Linked DNA regions of Homo sapiens: regions 2 and 3 are each linked to region 1. Evidence: promoter capture Hi-C in human tissues and cell types (Jung and others, 2019). All regions are on one chromosome and are shown on one strand. Each heading gives the region's core, a stretch centred on a gene start or on the middle of the fragment in contact. The rest is flanking DNA. Distances are from core to core; before and after follow the strand shown.

Region 1 (3,410 bases), core at 489-2,988:
CACAATGTGTTCCAGACACGCTATGGAATATTACGCAGCCATAAAAAGGAATGAGGCACTGATCCATGCTACAACCTCGATGAACCTTGAGTACATCATGCAGAGTGAGAGAAGCCAGAATGCCACCTCTTGTATGACTCCATTGATATGAAGTGTCCAGAACAGGCAAATCGACAGAGACAAGAAGTAGATTAATGGTTGTGAGCCACTTGAGGAGGGGGAATGGGGAGTGGCTGGTAATGGGGATGGGGTCTCCTTTTGGGGGGATGAAAATCTTCTGGAGCTAGACAGAGGTAATGATTGTACAACACTAAATGCCACTGAATAAAATGATTAATTTTATGTTATGTAAGTTTCATCTCGATTTTTTTAAAGTGCTGTGCGAATAATTTGGGGGACCAGTTGGGGAAGGGATCCAGGATTCTCCCTAGCCTCCTAGAGGAAGCAACGGTTACCCAAAGGCTTGAAGGAAGTAAGCAGAGGGGAAATCACAGCCAATGACAGAGTCCCTGGGTTGAGATCAAATGAAAAGTGAATTTTTAAATTTTGTTATTTCTTTTTTGAGACACAGCCTCGCTCTGTCACTCAGGCTGGAGTGCAGTGGCGTGATCTCAGTTCACTGCAGCCTCGACCTCCTGGGCTCAAGCGATCCTCCTGTCTCAGTCCCGAAAGTAGCTGGGTCCACAGGCGTGCACCACCACACCAGGCTGACTTCCTTATTTTTTGTAGAGATGGGGTCTGGCTATGTTGCCCAGGCTGGTCTCAAACTCCTGGGCTTAAGCCATCCTCCTGCCTCAGCCTCCCAAAGTGCTGGGATTACAGTTGTGAACCACCTCACCCAGCCCTTTCTCTCTCTCTCTCTTTTTTTTTTTTTTTTTTTTTGATGGAGTCTTACTCTGTCAGCCAGGCTGGAGTGTGCAGTGGTGCAATCTCGGCTCACTGCAACCTCCGCCTCCCTGATTCAAGCATTCCTCCAACCTCAGCCTCCCGAGTAGCTAGGATTACAGGCCATGCACCACTACGCCGGGCTAATTTTTTTTTTTTTTTTTTTTTTTAGTAGAGACGGGGGTTTCACCATGTTGGCCAGGCTGGTCTTGAACTCCTGACCTCAAGTGATCCGCCCACCTCGGACTCCTAAAGTGCTGAGATTACAAGCGAGAGCCACCGCGCCCGGCCTCCTTTCTCTTTATTTTTTATTTTTTAATTAATTAATTAATTAATTTTGAGACGGAGTCTCGCTCTGTCGCCCAGGCTGCAGTGCAATGGCGTAATCTCAGCTCACTGAAACCTCCGCCTCCTGGGTTCAAGCAATTCTCCTGCATCAGCCTCCCGAGTAGCTGGGATTACAGGCTCCGGCCACCACGCCCGGCTAATTTTTGTATTTTTAGTAGAGACGGGGTTTCACCATATTGGCCAGGCTGGTCTGGAACTCTTGACCTTGTGATCCGCCCGCCTCGGCCTCCCAAGGTGCTGGGATTACAGGCGAGAGCCACCGCCCCCGGCCTCCTTTTTCTTGTTTTAAACCACAATACAATCGATGCTTAGGGCGGCAGGGGGCGGGGTGGTGCCCTTTTCTGAACTTAGCGAGCTGTGGGGTTCCCGCGATCCAGTCCCTAGTGGGGCCTCCCCGCCCTGCGCCCGGTGCCAGGCCCCGCCCCGCCAGGCCCAGCGGACCAAGAGGGGGCGCCCGCGGGGCCCCGGGAGGGAGGAGAAAAGACTTTGTCCCAAGTTTTCGCGGAGATTCGGCGTCCCGGCTGCGACCAGCACCCCGGAGCCCCCGTCCGTCTGGCGACCCCCAGCCCAGTCCCCGAACTTTCAGACACTCCCTGCGGCCCCGCCCCCTCGGGGACCCCCTGAGGACCCTCGGATTCCCCCCAACTCCCCTGCCCTCTAAAACCACTTCAATTCCTCAACTCTTCCCCCGGCCCGCAGGAACCCCCGCCATGGCCCGTTCTTACGGCGGCCGGGTGCTGGCTGCAATGACCCTGCTGGGCATCGCGGCGGCCGTGCTGGCGGCGCTGGGCGCGCAGCTGCTGTTTCAGCTGCAGGCGGGCCGCGCCGAGCTGCGGGGGCTGCGCGCCGAGGGGCTGGGCCAGGAGCTGGGCGCCGGCCCCGGGCTGCCAGAGGACGCGGCCGGGACGCTGCTGCCGCTGGCCGCCGCGCTGGCCGCGCTGGTGCTCGTGCTGGGGTTCACCTGCTTGCTGCTCGCCGCGCTCTGTGGCCACCTGGGCGCCGAGCTGGCGCGGGGGCCTGGCCCCAGGAGGTAGGAGGACTGGCCTCACCGCCTCGGAGGCCCGGCTGGGGGCTGGGTGAGCCTGGTTGAGCCTCTTCCCCTCTTTTGGCCTCAGGCTGGGGGGACAGCTTCCCTCCCCACTTCCCTCTCCCCACCACTCCATGTCTCTCTGCCTCCCTCCTTTCCTCTCCTCCTCCCTCCTTCCCTCCCTCCATTCTATATTTGTTCAATTTTGCAGCAGGTGCAACCACTGCTGTGTCTCGCATTTTGCAGATGAGGAAACTGAGGCTCAAAGAGGGTCCAGGATCAGCTTGCCTGGATCTCAAACAGGGGAGGCTGAGCTCTCAGGCTGTCTGGCTTGGAAGTGGGTGGGAGGCGGGACAGTGCTGGACTTGAACTTGGTTCTGGGTAGAGCCAGCCAGAGCCTGTGTCCTGGTCTGAAATTGAGTTCCTTCCTCAGGGACCTGAACTCAGTCAGGGATGTGGTCATTGAGGGACCCCTATCAGGGGCAGTGGTTGTGGAAGGAGGAACCCTCCTTGAGCTGAGGACTCCGCTGTCCCACATGGTAGTGTTTCTCTCCAGAATGTCGGGGGAGAGGAGCCCAAATTCTAGTCCAGAATTCTGTGAAATTGAGCAGATGAGAACTCCCACCATTGAGGTAGATCCTATCCAGACCATGCACCTTCCACCCAAGGGACAATGAAATGCATGGGTCCCACGGGTCAGCAAACATCTGTTGGGTGCCTGCCTGCAGGGGAATGGATCTGGCTCAGGGCATCAGAGACAGCGGGGACCAAGTGGACCCAGACCTGCTCTCATGGGGTCACAGAAAATAAGGAAACATAACAAGGACAAGGCATGGTGGTTCACACCTGCAATCCCAGCCCTTTGGGAGGCAGAGGCAGGAGGATCATTTGAGGCCAGGAATTTTTTTTTCTTTTTTTTTTTTTGAGACAGAGTCTTGCTCTGTCACCCAGGCTGGAGTGCAGTGGCGCTATCTCGGTTCACTGCAGCCTCCACCTCTTGGGTTCAAGCGATTCTCCCACCTTAGCCTCCCGAGTAGCTGGGATTACAGGTGCCCACCACCATACCCAGCTAATTTTTGTATTTTTAGTAGAGGCGGGGTTTCACCATGTTGGCCAGGCTGGTCTTGAACTCCTGACCTCAAATGACCCA
Region 2 (3,410 bases), core at 444-2,943, 740 kb before region 1:
GGCGGAGCGGCCATCAGGGGGCGGGGCCGGACATGTGCAAGGGGCGGGTGCTCCCACCTTGTAGAATTCCCAGAACTTCTCCCGCAGCTCCTGGCAGCTCTCACCCACTGTCTGACCCTCCAGGCAGCCAAGGCCTGGGAAGCAAACCAAGAAATGAGAGTGTTAGAGGCCAGGAAGTACTGTTGAGACGACAAGATGGGCTGACGATGGAGGGGGCGGGGTTGGGCCCCTGAGAGCCCACGCCGCCCACCCCGGGCAGAGGGACAGGGACTTTCAGATGGGATGGACAGAGAATTAGGGTAGCTGGTGTAGAGACAAAACAGAGCAAGTCAGTCCCAGTGAGAGAAAGAGAGGTTATAAACATATAAACACGTGCCCCAATGGAGACACCCTGAAGTTGAGGGAGTTGTGTTACTTTTCCATCACAGACCAGGAAGCCGGGCTGGGAGGTGGAGAATGAGAGACTCCTCTATTAATACCGCTGTCTTTACCGAGCCTAGGGCTGGCACGGTTGCACCCCATTAAGTCTAGCCTCAATTTCTCTTCCTTCAGGCCTCAGAGCCTTTGCATTAGCTGTTCCCTCTGCCCGCTGGTTCCCTCTTCATGTCTCAACTGAGTGTGGTCCCCTTCTTTGGGAAATGCTCTCAACCTCCCGCCCAGGGCAGCCCCAACAGATACAGTCCTCGTCCCTCCTACACTCGCCAGCGTTCACATCGGCCGAGTCCGTCCTGTCCCCGCTGTGACCTGGCTCCTAGTCCAGGGCGACCCAAACAGGGGGCAAATTGGAAATGCACCTCTGCATCCTTCTTAACACAAAGCTGGCTCCACCCCTCCCGACCTATGAGAGGCAAAGCCTAGGCTTAGGAGGCTCCTTACCCAAGAAGTACCAGACGCCCAGCAATGGAGAGGCTACCAGCTGATCCACGAGGACCTTCTTGAGGACATTTGGGAAGCCTCGGAGGCCAGACGCAGGGAATAGGCGGTCCAGCGACAAGTACCAGTAGTGCAGGAAGGGACCCATGCTGCAGCCCACCGCAAACATGCTCGCTATAAGAGTGTAAGTCAGGGGGCTGGGTCGGGCCGGCAAGTTCCTCAGTCCATTCCCTCTCTCCCTCCCTGGCTAAGGCCTGGGTAAGCCCAATGCCATCCCGGAGCCTCAGCCTCACCGGGAAAACCGGAAGAGCCCACCCGTGCATTCTTCCACTACAAGCCCCACCAGGAGGCGCGGCTCCAGAGGCTCCTGGGTAGTGGGCAGAGACCTCCGGGGGTTGGGAGGTGATGGAGACCCAGAGCTGCGGGGAGACAGACACCCGGGGAGAGGCGCGGTCAGGGCAAGGGTCCTGCGGGGGACTGAGGCCACGGGTCAGGGGTCACGGCCCGCAGTCGGGTGTCGGGATCAAAGGTCGCCCGGGGTGAAGGACTAAGCAGCGTGGCGTCCTCACCGGAGCGCCGTGGGTCGAAAACCTGGCCGGGCCGGGCGCGGATCTCCCAGGACTGGCGCACGCCATCACCGGCCGCCATGAGCGCGCCGCAGCCCAGCGTGTTAGTGACGAGCAGCGCGCGGCCCTGGAATAGAAGCTGCCCCGCGGATAACAGGCGGCGTAGCCGGCGCCAGCCACCCCGCGCCATCGCCCTCAGGAACCAAGGAACCGGCGCGCCGCTCTGCTTTCGCCGCGCCGACCAGTCGCGAGTCACTGTCGATCCCAAATTGCCCGCCCCTCCGGCTCCCCGGCCAATCGCATAAGGATCTTCAGTCCGCAGGTCCGCCCCGAGCCGCGACGCGTTCACCAATCGCAGGCAGCCTCGGGGAGCCACATTGCCCGGCCCGAAGAGTATTGACCAATAAAAGGCAGGCGTTCTATCCCAAGGTCGAGCCCCCAACGACCTCCCGAGCTTCACGGACCAATCGGAAAAAAGAATTGCGTTACGTCCCGCATGCCGATTGGTAACGTTGCACTCTTGTTTCCCCGCCCCTTTCTGTGCCAGCCTATGGGAAACCGTCGCAGCCCCGTCCTACCGACACGCCCAGGACGGCACTGGCCAGTCGCAGACCGGCGTCACGCTGGCAAATCAGTGACCGTCGTCCCGCCTCCCGCGTTAGGGTTGGTCAATCTTAGGCAGTTACAACGCCTTCTGGCCTGGTTGCCCTACGTATTTCCAGATTCTCCTGGACTTAACCAGAAGGGATGTGATCTGTGGCCAGAAACAATTATATCCTAATTATACCGTTCCCGTAGGGAACAATTATTTTTTTTCTTTTTTTGAAATGGAGTCTCGCTCTGTCACCCAGGCTGGAGTGCGGTGGCGCGATCTCGGCTCACCGCAACCTCTCCCTCCCGGGTTCAAGCGATTCTCGTGTCGCAGCCTCCCAAACAGCTGGGATTACAGGCACGGGCCACCACGCCCAACTAATTTTGTATTTTTGGTCTAGACAGGGGTTTTGCCATGTTAGCCAGGCTGGTCTCGAACTCCTGACCTCAAGAGATCCACCCGCCTTGGCCTCCCAAGGTGCTGGGATGATGATAGGCGTGAACCACCGTAACTGGCTTAAAAAATGATTTTCAATGGAAATCCCTATGCATTCTCTACTAGAGTCGCAAACTACTGCCTGTGGGCTGTTAACTGTTGAAGGTGTGCAGGTTCTTGGCATCTTGAACAAAGAATTGGACAAAGTGCACAAACAAAGCAAGGAAAGAATGAAGCTTAACAAAAGCAGAGATTTATTGAAAACGAAAGTACACTCCGCAGGGTGGGAGCCAGTGGAGCATACGGACTCAAGAGACCTGTTTAAGAATTTTCTGGGGTTTAAATGCCCTCTAGAGGTTTTCACTGGTTACTTAATGTACGTCCTATGTAAATGAAGAGGATGAAGTAAAGTTACAAAGTCATTTACTGGATGTATGCCCTCTTTAAATGGAGAAGATATTTCCTGTCATAGCTGAATTGTTTCCATTTGATTTGGCCTTATGTTCCCTGCCTCCAGACCTATTCTCCTGCCTCAGGGCCAAATCCTGTCCCTGCCTGTTTTGTGCTGCTCATGATGAGCTAAAGGTGTTTCTTACATTTTTTAAATGGTCAGTCAAGAAGGTGGGGATTGGCCAGGCGCAGTGGCTCACGCCTGTAATCCCAAACAGTTTGGGAGGCGGAGGCAGCTGGATCACCTGAGGTCAGGAATTCAAAACCAGCCTGGCCAACATGGTAAAACCCCATCTCTATTAAAAATACAGAAATTAGCCAGGGGCGTGGTGGTGGGCGCCTGTAATCCCAGCCACTCGGGAGGCTGAGGCAGGGTAATCTCTTGAACCCGAGAGGTGGAGGTTGCAGTGAACCGAGATAGCTCCAGTCTGGGCCACAGAGCGAGACTGTCTCAAAAAAAAAAAAAAAAAAAAAAAAAAAAGGCTGTGCCTAGG
Region 3 (3,410 bases), core at 671-3,170, 560 kb before region 1:
ATACAGGGTGAATGTAGGCACTGTCCCCCAGGGCCAGCAGGATGCCCTACCTTGAGTGCGTAGTCCACGTGTAGAACGCGGCAGTGCAGGATGGAAGGACCCACTGGGGGGATCCGCAGTGCCCGGCCCTGCCACAGCGCCCGCTGCCCGGGGCCCACCGGCTCGCCCGCGAGGCTGGCCACCACTGCCCGTTTCTGCTTTCGGGCGCCTCGGGCCATGAACGTCTGTGTCTGCACCACGGCTGCCCGAGGCAGCACAGGACGTGTGGAGCCGTTGTCGATCTCGGCAAAGACAGGGATGACCTCTCCTGCAGCAAGGAGCAGTGGGGCCTCAGTTTCCCCTCCTGCAACCCCAACACCAGCCCCCGTCCCAACCCAGTCCGGTCCGCCTGCTACCTGGGGTGTAGCCCTTGCGGTCGATCTTGGCCGAAAGGGAGACTAGGCCACGGTTACAGTACCAGGATCGGGCAACCTTTTCCCGAGCCCCCGCTTGAGGTGCCTGTCGGTGTAGAGGAAAGTGACATGGATGAGTCACTTTGTGCAAACCACAGTCGCTGTGGAGCTTCCAAACCACCCCCAGCTGAGGGAGGACTTTGGGCAGGGCTTGGTTTCTTTTTAACAATCCAGGAACTATCCGTTAAATAGAGCCAGGAACACAACCCATCTTATAAAGCCAGAAATGAAATGTATAAGCCAAGTGTTTGGTGTGTAATTCACACTTGGTAAGCCCTAGCTCTGGTCTATTTCACAGAAGAGGCATCTGAGGCTCAGAGAGGGCTTCAAGACACTTGCCCAGAGTCACACGGCAAATGGGTGCAGATCCCAGTGGATTCCACACGCATTCCCACACCTGCCTCCCTCCCTGCCAGGGCCCACCTATGACCTCCATCTTATTGGTTGGTGTCGCCCAGCAGCCAGGCAGGCCCCTTCCTACAATACTCCCAACCTACCTCCCCAAGGGTGGCCACTCACCAGCAGGGCTGGCGTGTTGATGTCCACAGGCTCGATGACAGTGAACACCTTCCTTGCCCGGCGTGCTGGGACCCAGGGCCGGTGCAGGGTGGCCTTGATACAGTAGCGGACACTACCGTGTTTGCCCTCGAAGGATGTCACCAGGGTCCTAGGGTGGAGGGACGGGACTTCAGGGGACAAGATACAGAGACAAGCAGGCAGGGAGAAGGAGACACAGACACTCCGGGGGCCTCCCAGGGGGAGAGTCTTGGGGCTCAGAGGTGCCCAGATATCCAGTATTGGAGGTACCAATCTGGAAGGGGCTGCAGGCTTAGGGCAACCCTGCACCCCAGAGGACTTACGGGGGCAGCTGGAAGCTGAACAGGAACTCATGGCGCCCAGGAGGCAGCGTCGTGGTCTCCCCGGTATCTGCAGGTAGGAGAAAAAGGAGGCGACTGAGCGGTTGCGCTGGGGTCCCAGGGCTGACGGAGGTACCGCCGTCCAGGTGGTGGGAGGCACACAACTGGTGTTGGAGCAGGGGTCCTCCATCCGTACCTGGCGCCAGGAGCGTGGCGCGGTGGCTCACGACCTCCACGCGTTCACTGTAGCTCTGCGTGTAAGCCGTGCTCGAGCCCGCGCTGCGCGACTCGGTCCAGTGCACGTGGGCGCGGCCCCGCGCGCGCAGCCTCAGGGCACCCACACGCGCGGCGCTTGACAGCTCCAGCAGCACCCGGCCCGCCACGGCCTGGCCGCCGCTAAACACGGGCTCGACGCCCGCGGTCGCGCCGTCCAACTGCACCGAGAACGCTTTCACCTTGTCGAATAGCATCGCGTCCGGGGTGCGAACCCACGACAGGCGGAACCTGGCCTCGAACTCGCGAACCGGCAGCTCAAGATGCCGACGCTGCAGCCTCAGAACGCAAAATCGCCGTCAACGCGCAGGCGCGCTCACCAACCGGAGCAGAAAATCCCCGCGCCGTGCGTCGGCGCCGCTTTTATACGGCAGGGCGGGGGGGGGTGGGGTCACCGTCTCTTCCCCGCCCCGGGAAGGGACTCCACCAATAGCGCGACAAGGGGCGTGGCTCTGCCCAGGCGTGGAGCAAAATAACAAACGCCCCTGCTCACCGCCGGCTGCCCCCTTCCCTCGCGGACCCCGGGGAGAAACTGAAGCCCTTAGGCTGCCAGAGCTGGTCTCTCGCGGACCCCGGGGGTAAAGAGGAAAAAAAGAGGTGCAGAGGCAGGGCCCAGGCCTGAGGTCACCTAGCAGAGCCTTCAGCCTCTCGGCTTAATCACTCACCAGCCGCCCCTCGTTGACGTGACTCGAGGCATGTCCAGCCCGATTTGGGGCGGGGGACTCTCGCCCCAGTTGAGGGCCAGAGAGCCTATGACTGTTCCAGGCCTGTTTCCCCCGCTATGCAAAGGGAGAAGTGGAGGAGGTGGGTGGGACCGCCCTCCACACTGGTGCCTGCTGCACCCCTTTCCTGATTCAAGTCCCGCTTAGCTGGTGGCTCTGGGCAAATGACAACCTCTTGGAGCCTCAGTTTCCACCTCTGTAGAGCCGGGAGAAAGTAAAAATCAGTCCTGACCTCAGAAGGTTGTGCATGGATCATCGTGCAGCCCCAGCTGGACTCCTCCAAGAGCCTCGCTCCCGGGTCATCAACCTGCTCTTGACATACCGTCACTCGGTCGCGCCTCGGCGCATTCGCCCAGGAGCGGTACCTACGAAATGATGTTCCCTTCCCAATTTTCAGCCTCTGGCAAACCCTACCTTCCCCGCAGCCCTTGTGCCTGCTCCAGTCATCCTCAGCCCCCGTCCCGCCACAGAGCTGAATGCAGGGGACGCTCGGGCACCCCCAGGTCCACAGCTGCGGTGTGGCCACGGGACGGCGTGACCTCTCTCTGGGCTTCAGTTTCCCCAAAGAAAAGTCGCATGGAGTTTCTCCAGCGGGAGTTGCCTCTGCGTCGTCTGCGGGACGCTGGCGCCCTCTCGTGGCAGCGTAATGCGCTGCCGCTGAACCCATCCCCTGCCGTGACTGTCCGCCTCTGAGCCTGGCTCAGGAGACTTCCACCACCTCAGTGAGGTGTGTGGGTGGAGGGGGCGGTCATAAACAAACACGGTCACCCTCAGCCCGTGATGGGGATCGGAACAGGAACGACGGAGTTGGAGGCACAGTGATCAGCCTGGAAGGCTGCCTGGGAGGATGGGTCTTTGGAGTTGAAAGGAAGGTCTGGGACCTTAGGCCAGGTTTCAATGGATACTAGAGGGGAGACAGTAGGCCGTTAAGTCCGGGAGGAGAAGCGGGATTAGGTAACCCTGAAGGGACTACTGAGCCAGCGCCTCCCTCAATTCATTTCGCAGACGGACCCCAAAGGCCCAGAGATGGGTGGGGCTCTGCCCGAGGTCACACAGCACCTCCACTGGCCTCGCCCCTCCAGTGTCACTGTTTTTTCCTTAAATGT

Evidence for each region. The method cuts DNA at HindIII sites, captures the fragments that hold promoters and counts their contacts. A contact is called where the count stands out against the background at its distance.
Region 2: the fragment with the promoter of MPV17L2 here is called in contact with the fragment with the promoter of TMEM221 in region 1 in 2 of the 25 tissues and cell types used here (mesendoderm cells and thymus).
Region 3: a contact is called between the fragment with the promoter of ARRDC2 here and the fragment with the promoter of TMEM221 in region 1, in 1 of the 25 tissues and cell types used here (IMR-90 fibroblasts).

The regions. Positions count from the first base shown.
Region 1 is chr19:17,446,996-17,450,405 of GRCh38, reverse strand. It overlaps TMEM221 (transmembrane protein 221), which reads left to right and starts at 1,738. Exons shown (of 3, transcript NM_001190844.2): 1 at 1,738-2,263. The coding sequence starts at 1,944. RefSeq lists a silencer at 1,605-1,724. The HindIII fragment of the contact is 11,612 bases long and covers 1-3,410 here.
Region 2 is chr19:18,191,501-18,194,910 of GRCh38, reverse strand. MPV17L2 (MPV17 mitochondrial inner membrane protein like 2) reads right to left here and starts at 1,693. Exons shown (of 5, transcript NM_032683.3): 1 at 1,443-1,693; 2 at 877-1,047; 3 at 58-134. The coding sequence starts at 1,629. RefSeq lists an enhancer at 1,549-1,598 and a silencer at 1,989-2,168. The HindIII fragment of the contact is 8,354 bases long and covers 1-3,410 here.
Region 3 is chr19:18,006,680-18,010,089 of GRCh38, reverse strand. It overlaps ARRDC2 (arrestin domain containing 2), which reads right to left and starts at 1,920. Exons shown (of 8, transcript NM_015683.2): 1 at 1,506-1,920; 2 at 1,313-1,379; 3 at 972-1,119; 4 at 396-498; 5 at 51-307. The coding sequence starts at 1,779. RefSeq lists an enhancer at 1,647-1,866. The HindIII fragment of the contact is 21,109 bases long and covers 735-3,410 here.